Regions from separate parts of the Homo sapiens genome. Here region 1 is linked to region 2. Evidence: promoter capture Hi-C in 16 types of primary human blood cells and fetal thymus (Javierre and others, 2016). All regions are on one chromosome and are shown on one strand. The core of a region is centred on a gene start or on the middle of the fragment in contact, and the rest is flanking DNA. Distances in the headings are between cores, read along the strand shown. Region 1 overlaps NCOA7 (nuclear receptor coactivator 7). Region 2 holds the start of NCOA7-AS1 (NCOA7 antisense RNA 1).

The links. The method cuts DNA at HindIII sites, captures the fragments that hold promoters and counts their contacts. A CHiCAGO score of 5 or more calls a contact.
Region 1: a fragment that was not itself captured here is called in contact with the fragment with the promoter of NCOA7-AS1 in region 2 in 2 of 17 cell types (activated CD4 T cells and non-activated CD4 T cells); the score reaches 5.5 in activated CD4 T cells.

Annotation. Positions count from the first base shown.
Region 1 is chr6:125,876,506-125,881,225 of GRCh38, reverse strand. It overlaps NCOA7 (nuclear receptor coactivator 7), which reads right to left. Exons shown (of 16, transcript NM_181782.5): 5 at 2,856-2,963; 6 at 23-136. Among named protein-coding and RNA genes, the nearest start is that of NCOA7-AS1, 60 kb to the right of the region's middle. The HindIII fragment of the contact is 9,442 bases long and covers 1-4,720 here.
Region 2 is chr6:125,817,557-125,822,287 of GRCh38, reverse strand. It overlaps NCOA7-AS1 (NCOA7 antisense RNA 1), which reads left to right and starts at 3,430. Exons shown (of 3, transcript NR_126386.1): 1 at 3,430-3,478. All of the region lies in intron 2 of NCOA7 (nuclear receptor coactivator 7), which reads right to left. RefSeq lists a silencer at 111-405 and an enhancer at 3,704-4,205. The HindIII fragment of the contact is 4,548 bases long and covers 1,956-4,731 here.

The sequences.
Region 1 (4,720 bases), core at 170-2,669, 61 kb before region 2:
CTTCAGTGCATAATATACATACAGGCAATTTATCATATTCTGCATCTGATGATGAAGGAGAGACAGTAGCACCAGGACTGGATGATGATAGCCTTAAGGTACTGGAAGGAGAGTTGGCATCTGGCACAAAAAGGACCTGAGAATGGGAGAGAACAGATGGGTGAGTACCAGCAACCAGGCAAACCACTAGTGAGTGTTTGGAGAAGTTATTCTCTACACAGTATCATGTTCAGTGCATGATTACGACCTAGGTTGCTTTCAAGAAACTCATAAGCAACTTACGGTTTTCTAGACTAATCCATGAAATGATACTCAGCATATGAATGTGTGTAGTACAAAGGGTACAGAACATGCCTGTAGACACTGCAAGAACTCAAAAAGAAAGGGAGAGCAAGGCCAGGCACAGTGGCTCATGCCTGTAATCCCAGCACTTTGGGAGACCAAGGTGGGCAGATCACCTGAGGTCAAGAGTTTGAGACCAGCCTGGCCAACATGGTGAAACCTTGTCTTTACTAAAAATACAAAAAAATTTAGCTGGGCATGGTGGCTCGCACCTGTAGTCCCAGATACTCGGGGAGGCTGAGGCAGGAGAATCTCTTGAACCCAGGAGGCAGAGGTTGCAGTGAGCCAAGATCGTGCCACTGCACTCCAGCCTGGGTGACAGAGGGAGACTCCACCTCAAAAAATAAAATAAAATAAAATAAAATATAAATAAATAAATAAATAAAAAGAAAAGAGAGAGCAAGGTGGGTAAGTATTCTGGGCAGGCCAAGTGAAGCAAGTGGGTCCAACTGAAGCCTTGAAGAACAAGTAGAAATTGGATAGGAGAGAGGGAAGAGCCCTCCAAGGTGGGAGACTAATAGTATAAGGGAAATGAGGAGAGAGAAGCATGGCTTCTAAACTTAATATCTGTGCCAGGTAGAAATGGAACAAACCCAGCTTGCTAACTCCAAGCAGGCTCTGAGTTCTAAAGCAGTAGGTCCTTATATGATAAATTGTATAAGGTAATATCAATAAAATAATCCCAATATTTTCTCTTCCAACAGTGTCTGGGTTATGTGTAACTAAAAACTACCCCCACCCCAAAAAATTATACAGAATAGCAACCTCTGCAAAACATTCTGGTTCTCAAAACATTACTACAATCCTGTCATTCAATATTCTTTTAATGAGACATGCTACATTGTGGCATGTATCAAATATAATCTTTTGTCTTTTTCTGAGATGGAGTTTCACTCTTGTCACCCAGGCTGGAGTGCAGTGGCATAATCTCAGCTCACTGCAACCTCCACCTCCCACATTCAAGAGATTCTCCTGCCTCAGCCTCCCAAGTAGCTGGGATTATAGGAACCCACCACCAAGCCTGGCTACTGGCTAATTTTTGTATTTTTAGTAGAGATGGGGTTTCACCATGTTGGTCAGGCTGTCCTTGAAGTCCTGACCTCAAGTGATCTGCCTACCTTGGCCTCCAAAGTGCTGGAATTACAAGGATGAGCCACTGTGCCCGGCCAAATATAATCTTAAAATGATGACCTTTAATGTTATAAAACAGAATTCAGAGCTAATCATATAACAACTGATTACTGATCAATATTGTTATTCACTGTCTCCTATCTTTCCAGTCATTTAAACCTCACTTCAATCCAGAAAATATTTGAGACAACAATAAAAAAACACATTAAAATAAAAGTGGGAAAATCAAAGTCAAGGGGGGATATAAGATGAGGACTGATAACTACTAAAAATATATGCACCAAAACTGGTAACCACTCATTAAGAAGTGGGCCATAAAAGTGACTCTGAGTTTCCATATAATTAATGCAAAGAGACAACATCATTAGTTAGCAGAATTCAACTTCCATGAGATAAAAATGAAGTTTCTCAGAAGTACAAGTACTCTCCTACAGAATCTCATACAAAGGAGCATCCTAGACTGAATTATTTGTCCTCTATGATGCACTAACAGTAAATACAATAACCAGTTTTGGAGTATTGCCTTTTATAGCATCTTCAATATGGGTCAATGGAAATGCCAAAGTTTAGAGTTCTGTAAAAAGCAATTTACAAAGGACTAAAATTTTGTGATCTTGGTATATAGCTCTTATTTATCTTATATAGCTAAACTAGAGTAATGGATGGATGATGTTTTTCCCAAGCAATTCTCCACTAATAGTAAATTTTTTTTGCATCTGAACTCTTAAAAAAAGTATTAGGTAACATAGATTGCGATTCAATTGTCTGAACATTCCAAATGTCAAATCTAAGGAGTAATTCCTGTGCTTAAACAGTTGACTGCACTGTAAAGAGAGGTGAGCAGCCGCCAGAACATGTGCTACCTCAACATGGAAGTGAGCCTGGATCATGGGCAGGGGTGAAAGTTTCCTATTGCCTTCAGAAAATAATTTTGGGTTTGCTCCCAACACATATGCCAATCAGGATTTGAGGTCTTAAAGTTCTTAACCATACAGCAATGCTGTCATTTCAGCCTGGAAAAAAATTTTAAGCATGTGTAGCCAAGGTATCCTGTGAATATGAAAATATCGTAAAGTTGAGCTGGGTGCAGTGGCTCATGTCTGTAATCCCAGCTACTTGGGAGGCTGAGGTGGGAGGATTGCTTGAGCCCAGGGGATTGAGGCTGCAGTGAGCCATGATGGTGTCACTGCACTCCAGCCTGGGCAACAGAGCAAGACCCTGTCTCAAAAAATAAATAAATAAAAATAAAGGAGAGAAAATATTGAACCAAAGCACATTATCATTTATCATAATCCTGTGACAAACAATAGTGAGGCACTGAAAACGGCAATAAAAGATAAATGCAGAATTTCTAGAGTTATATCCAGTAAGAGTATAATTACCTGGCCTGGAACAATAGTATGTGTGAAAAGTTTATTCAGTTCCACCAATTTATTGGGAGTGATGTTAAATTTCAGTGCTATGGAGTTTAGGGTGTCCTGGTTTCCAGCCTAGAATAATCAAACAGGTAAGAGTCAATAAATAAAGCAAAAAAAATTACTTTTGATAGATACTATTAATTTATCTGCAATATGAATAAATAACAAACTAATAGTTCCATCAAGATAGACTATAAGAAAGAATGAATACATTGTCAATTCTTAATAAAATCATTTTACAGCAAAGTCTTAAATGCAATTCATTTCTGGGCTTCCTCATTTTCAAATTTCACTGTCCCCTAATAGATTTCTAATTTTACTTTGGTGCAACTGAGGCGCATGAAGTAAAGGTCCGTGAGCTGTAATGAAGACTACAACAAGAAAAGAAATACGATGTACACAGAGTCCCCACCCTCAGGGGAAGTGGGGCTACTTTCTCTCTTATAATTTTCTGTCTATTTGCATGACTTTTCCATATACTATAAACTGCTGGCTTGTATGGCAAAGCTGGCAAAATGTTTTCTCCTGGGCTCAGCACACTGCTTGATACATGGAGGGTACTCAAAAAGTTGATGAATGAATACTGTGAAAGCAAGGAAATCAGAAAGAAATTCAGATTAGCTACCAATAATTGTTCACTATCATTAAAACCACACTTTTCTATGGTCAAATTAGTGTTATTCTCTAAATCTGTAAAACTTGTGACATATGTCCCAGGTGTACACTTTTCTTTCCTTCTGAGGAGGAACAGGAATAGAGGGCAGTGAGGAGATGAGAAACTTCACAGGAAAACAGCTCTACCCAGAAAAAAAGTTGGCTCCCTGATGTCATGTCAACATCCCAGGACAAACTCCCTGATCAGAGCTGCCAGATAGACTTGCTAGTGGGAGGTCACTCTGATGAATGTCACTGAGAAGTTCCAATTGATAGCCCTGGGTCAAGACTGGTATAAGTTCTTTGTAAGCAGAACTGGCTCCACCAGGTGAGCCTTGAATTATGTGGAGATGTGAGGAGGCTGAAGGAAGATGTGGACTGGTGAAAGGGTAGAGATGTAGGAGGAGAATTAAACCCATCGCTGCCTTCAGTATCAGAGGTCCAACTACTAGATGAACTGTCTCAGACTAATCAAAGGTTACGGTTACAGATTACATTGAAACAGCCTCAAAGCCCTTCTGGAACAAGTTAGGATATATTATATGTAGTATGTATAATTTTTTAAATCACTAAAGTAAACAACATATGCCACTACTTCTACCCTAGGTAAAACCATCTCCACTAAAAACAAAGTTAAAAAATATTTTTAATACTGTATTATGTATTTGTATACTATATTCATATTGTTATGAGTAAACTTGTAAAACATACACTGTATAGGGGGATCAGAGTAAGAAAAACTTTAACAATCTGCAGTTATTAAAGACAAGACATACATGTAGAATTAGGGCACAGACCCCGAGAGGGATGTTGGTATCATCAAATGACTGAAACTAAGCCAGAATGCTTGATCATCCACAGCTCAGGAGTAGTAAAAGCAATCGGGTAAGTGCTAGCAGGCTCTTTAAACACAAAATTATATGAGTTACCTTTTATTTCCAATGACAAGCACAAAACCAACTTGTCAAATAAAATTAATCTCCATAACATGAAACAGAGAGGTAGGCATACCTGCATTATTGACTTGATCACTTGTTAATATTTAATTAATTCGGAGTTTGATTTTTTTTTTTTTTTTTACTGTCACTACATTATTCAGTATATACTATATGAAGTAACTCCTGGCAAAAGCACCTCTCCATTCTTTGGAGGAGCATGTGAATAAAGGTGCTAGA
Region 2 (4,731 bases), core at 2,181-4,680:
TTAGCAAGTACTTAAAACTGTTCTATTTGCGTTTTATGTATCAACACAATTAAAACTGTGCTATGACTGAGTATCTGAATCCAACAATGGGCAATAAATTTCTCCTCAAATGCCAGACATACTAAAGATGATTTAAGATGATAAATCTCTAACAGCCCTTGGCCAGCAGGAAAAAACAATCTACAGTTAATTAAAGAAAGGGCAAGAGTTCACATCACACCACTCCACCCACGTGGTATAATCATTCTTGGCACTGGCACACCACAAAGAGATGGCTGCTTCCTAGGATTCAAAGGTTGCCTCTGTGGGGCTGGAGACAAGGAGCATAACACTTTGTGCTCCACCAGTGCTGCAGATCAACCACCCAGATCCATCCACGTGATGCCTTCCACTGGACCTCAGACTCTGTATTTGACCAAGAGGACAAAGGAAGGCTTTTTGTACAGAATTATTTCTGCATTCATTTCTATCATGGGCAACTGCTCTTTTCAGACAACATGCAACCTTAGGGAGTAAAGTGGATCACTGTAATGCAACACCCTGACTTACACAGGTGAAGTATTACAGACTGCCTGCTTCCTATTGTCTTGGTAGGTTAATACTCTGACATTAACCATATTATAGATGAATAAGTTGATAAGACATGGATTATGGGATGTTGTCAAGTTATAAACAAATTATTTTTGAAAAGGTCGCTTATAAGTTAGACCTTTAGAACCTATGATGCATTTCTCCAAATTAATTTACACTGGTGTAAATTAATGTTCAGCTGTCAAGACTGCCCACAGAAATCTATGCAACCCACACTGTGAGTAGCAGCAGGTCAGGTGACCTGTGTTCTATAAGCCCCGTTTTGCAACTAAAGGGGCACATGGCAGCACTGCAGAGCATAAGCTCTGGATGGAGAAGGGAAGACCTGAGTTCAAATCCTGACACGCCTATCTTATCTCAGTGAAGTTATTCAACCCCTTTGAGTATAAATTATCATAGCAGTCAAATTATATTTAGGGATGAACTTTTTTTAAATCAGATGTTTGGTATGAAGATAATCTGGATCACTTTTTACAAAAGCCTTTTTCATATCAAGGCATGCAGAAAGATGATAATACTTCTACTCATCCCTGGGGTAAGATGCTGATCATAGCTAAAGATGACCAGCCCAGGTCTCTGACAAACCCAATCCCTGCCTGGCCACTCTGAGGACCAAGGGGGCCAGTATCACTGGCACGCCGCTTGACATGACGGTTCATCAAGCCACTCAAGTGGTGAGGCTCTGATTACCAATTAATATATCTAAAAGTACCCTGGGATAGAGCCAGCCTATCATGGACCCTTTCACCTCATGGGCTTAGGGTCCAACTGTTAAATAAAAGACTGTTAGGTTTCTCAAGGCCCTTTGACTATATAACTCCACTTCATTATATCCCAGAACCTAACTAACTGTGCTTATAGCAAAGTATCTTTGGGAAATGATATGGTTCCAATTTGGATTGTCGTTAAGTGTTCCTTCTTCCCTGATCTGAACAACAGGAGCAGCTCATGGGCTGAAAGTGGGAGGTCAAGATGAAAATTAGGTGAAGATGTAGGTAGACACAGAAGTAAGATCAGGAATGATTTGTTATTAAAGGAATGTGTGAGTACTCACTGTATCAGGTACTGTTCGTATATTACCCTCAATCTTCATAGCCATCTTGGTTTCATTTTACTTGAACACGAAAGCTACAAAGTGTACTATTCACACAACAGAGAAAGCTATACAGTGGGTTCAAATCTCCTCTGCCATGGAAAAGAGAATAAGGGGACCAGCTGTTCAGCTCTGGCCCTCCTTGCTGGGTCCCATTTGAGCTTCTCTCCAGTTCTGGCTGGTTGGGATGTCTCCTTCTTCAAAAGCATCTTGTTAGTTGGTTATTTTTAGCAACATTTAACAACTGAAGAAATGTAAGGTAAAGGAAGCTTAGAAGACTTGCCAGAGGTTATACACTGGAGTGAACTGCAAACACTAGGTGTTCTGCTTGTGGGTCAGAGGTTCAAGGGTGAAGAATTGCCAGGGCAGAGGCTGGAGATGGGAGCTAAGAAATGTTCTACACTTTGCATCCTTTGTCACTGAGAATGATGACAGAGGTGGTGCTGGCTCCTACTGCTGCTCTGAAAGGCTGGGTTAAGAGGAAAGCGGAGGTGGGAGCAGCAGTTCTGCTTTTCATGACAACCAGGGAATAGGGGAGGTGGGAGCCAACAAGGGACCTACATGAACACCCAGTCTGTGTCTTCGTCTATATTACTCACTGTTTACTCCCAGGCTCTCACACCTTATCAGAGGGGAAAAGTAAACCTCCCACAAAACACCATTTGGTTCAACTACAGATGTATTTTGGATATCTTCAATCAACGCTTGATCCTGAAAAAATGCTTTCAAAGAATCTTCAACCAATGGCATACAAGGACCTACTCGGAAATCACAAAAGCCAAATAATGTCAAGCAAGTGTGTAAGAAGACAGCCCTGTATGGCAATACTAAAGAAAATTTTGCATTCTAACTACAAGGGGAAGGAAGAGTCAGCAGGGGTGTAACAAATGACACATGATAGTCACCCCAGAGGATAGCATAAATTGTACACAGTACAAATAGTACAGAAAGTATAATTTGCTTTAGTAATTCAGTTTTTCATTTGGTTTTCAAGACCTGTCAGGGATCAAGAAATTAATATAGACATATACTAATTTTGCATATATAAATTATTTGCAAAACCATTTGTGAAAAAGTTTCACAAATCATTCAATCTAGATTTAACAACTGTTATAAAACTATCCTGAAGCACCTGAAAACCAGTTGGACCAGGGTCAGAAAATCCAAAAAATTCATCAGGTCTTATCCAGAATTACTCTATCTAGTAGCAGTATTAATCCACCCCTCTATTTAGAGTTACACAGGCATATTTCAAGATAAATTATAAGAAAGGAAAGACTGGGTGACCCTCAAATCACTAATTTCAATCCAAAATTATTAAAATAGGGTATTTTAAACTCTATTTTGATGTTAAAGAGCGAAACGTCAACAAAACAGGTTTGGCAAAGGACTATTTATCAAACACAGTCACACAACGATTATGAAACCACATGATAAGATAGCACACAAAGAAAACATTGGCTATTTAACTACTCAGGAGGAAAAACTAGGTGTTCCTAGTTTTTCCTAGGTGGAAGGGGGAAGCAGGCTAAAAAGCAGTTTTTAGGGTTTCAGATATGTAATTGTGGCAGCAGGCACAGCATCAGGGTAAATCTTCCTTTTGACTTCCTCAGAACACCAGTTGAGATTTATGTAAGGTGGTATAATTTAGTTTAGAGAAAACTGAGATTGCATCAGTTTGGCCTCACCCTTGGCCTGACATTTTATCCTTCTCTCCAGAGATCTTGCTTGGACTGCCCTTAAGTACGCTGCTCCAGAGAACTCTGCTCTACATTGTCAGAAACCAGCTTTCAAGTAAGTTCTGTTGCTAGTTCCACATGGTAATTCCACAGTTAAGTCAGAAGGCATTTGAAAAGATGTATAACTTTGGATGGCTCTTTTCTGATTATAGGCTGAAGGGGGTTCTTTTCTCTTTGGTTTGCCTTTTGCTTTTAATAGCTTGACCATTTCTGGCTTCCACTGCATTGTAAGAGCTAAACTACAGGTTTGTCAGTCAGTGTTTCTCTCTCTGTCTCTTTCTCTCTCTCCCTGCTCCTACCCCCTCTTCTCTCCATTCTCCTCTCTCCATCTCTCTCATTTCCTAGTTACAAATCATGTTGTCTTACTGTCTTAAGAGCATCACTGATTTCATCCTTGTGCCACTGTCCCTATGCTCCCAAGATCACATTTCAGCATTTTAGGATACGTTTTTTGTTTCATTTTTAGAATACTTTTCAGAAGAGGTCATGATAAGCAAGACAATTTTACATTTCTGAGTTGAAAAAACTGTGCTGCTCTTCCAGAACAGTTTTGGTTTGTATTCTCAGTTTCAGGGGCTCCCCTGACTCTACATTTTAGGAACAAGAAGAGGTTAACATTGAGCAGGTTGTTCATGAACCGGCAGTTACCTTTACTACAGGAATCACTTTGGATTCAGGCTGAGAAGGCACTATAGCTCTTAAAATCACTATGTAGGGCAAGTGAAGAAGAAAGAAAAGAAAGAAGAAGAAAGTAAGGAGGAGGAGGAAGGAGGAGGTGGGAGAAAGAAGGAAGGGGGAGAAGCGGGAAGGGGGAGGAGGAAGAAGAGGAGGAAGAGGAGCAGGAAGAGGAGCAGGAAGAAAGGGAGGAGGTGAGGAAGGGAGACGGGGAGGAAGGGGAGGAGAAGCATGACCACCATTTTGACCTAAACTCATATCTTATCCACAAATAAATTCAAAATGGATCACAGACTTAAATATAAAACATAATGCTATAAAATTTTCAGAAAAGAAAAACAGGAGAGAATCTTCAGAACATACAGCTAGGCAAAGAGATCTTAGAATTCAGACCAAAAGCACAATTCATAAAAGGAGAAACTGATAAATTGAACCACATCAAAATTAAAACCTTTTGCTCTGCAACTCTGTTAACTGGATGAAAAGACAAACTACAGTCCGGGAGAAAATATTTGCAAATCACATATCCAACAAAAGACTAGAATGTGTACAATTCAACAGTAAAAACCTAAACAATTCAATTAGAAAATGGGCAAAAGATAGGAAAGGAGATGCCACTAAAGAAGATACACT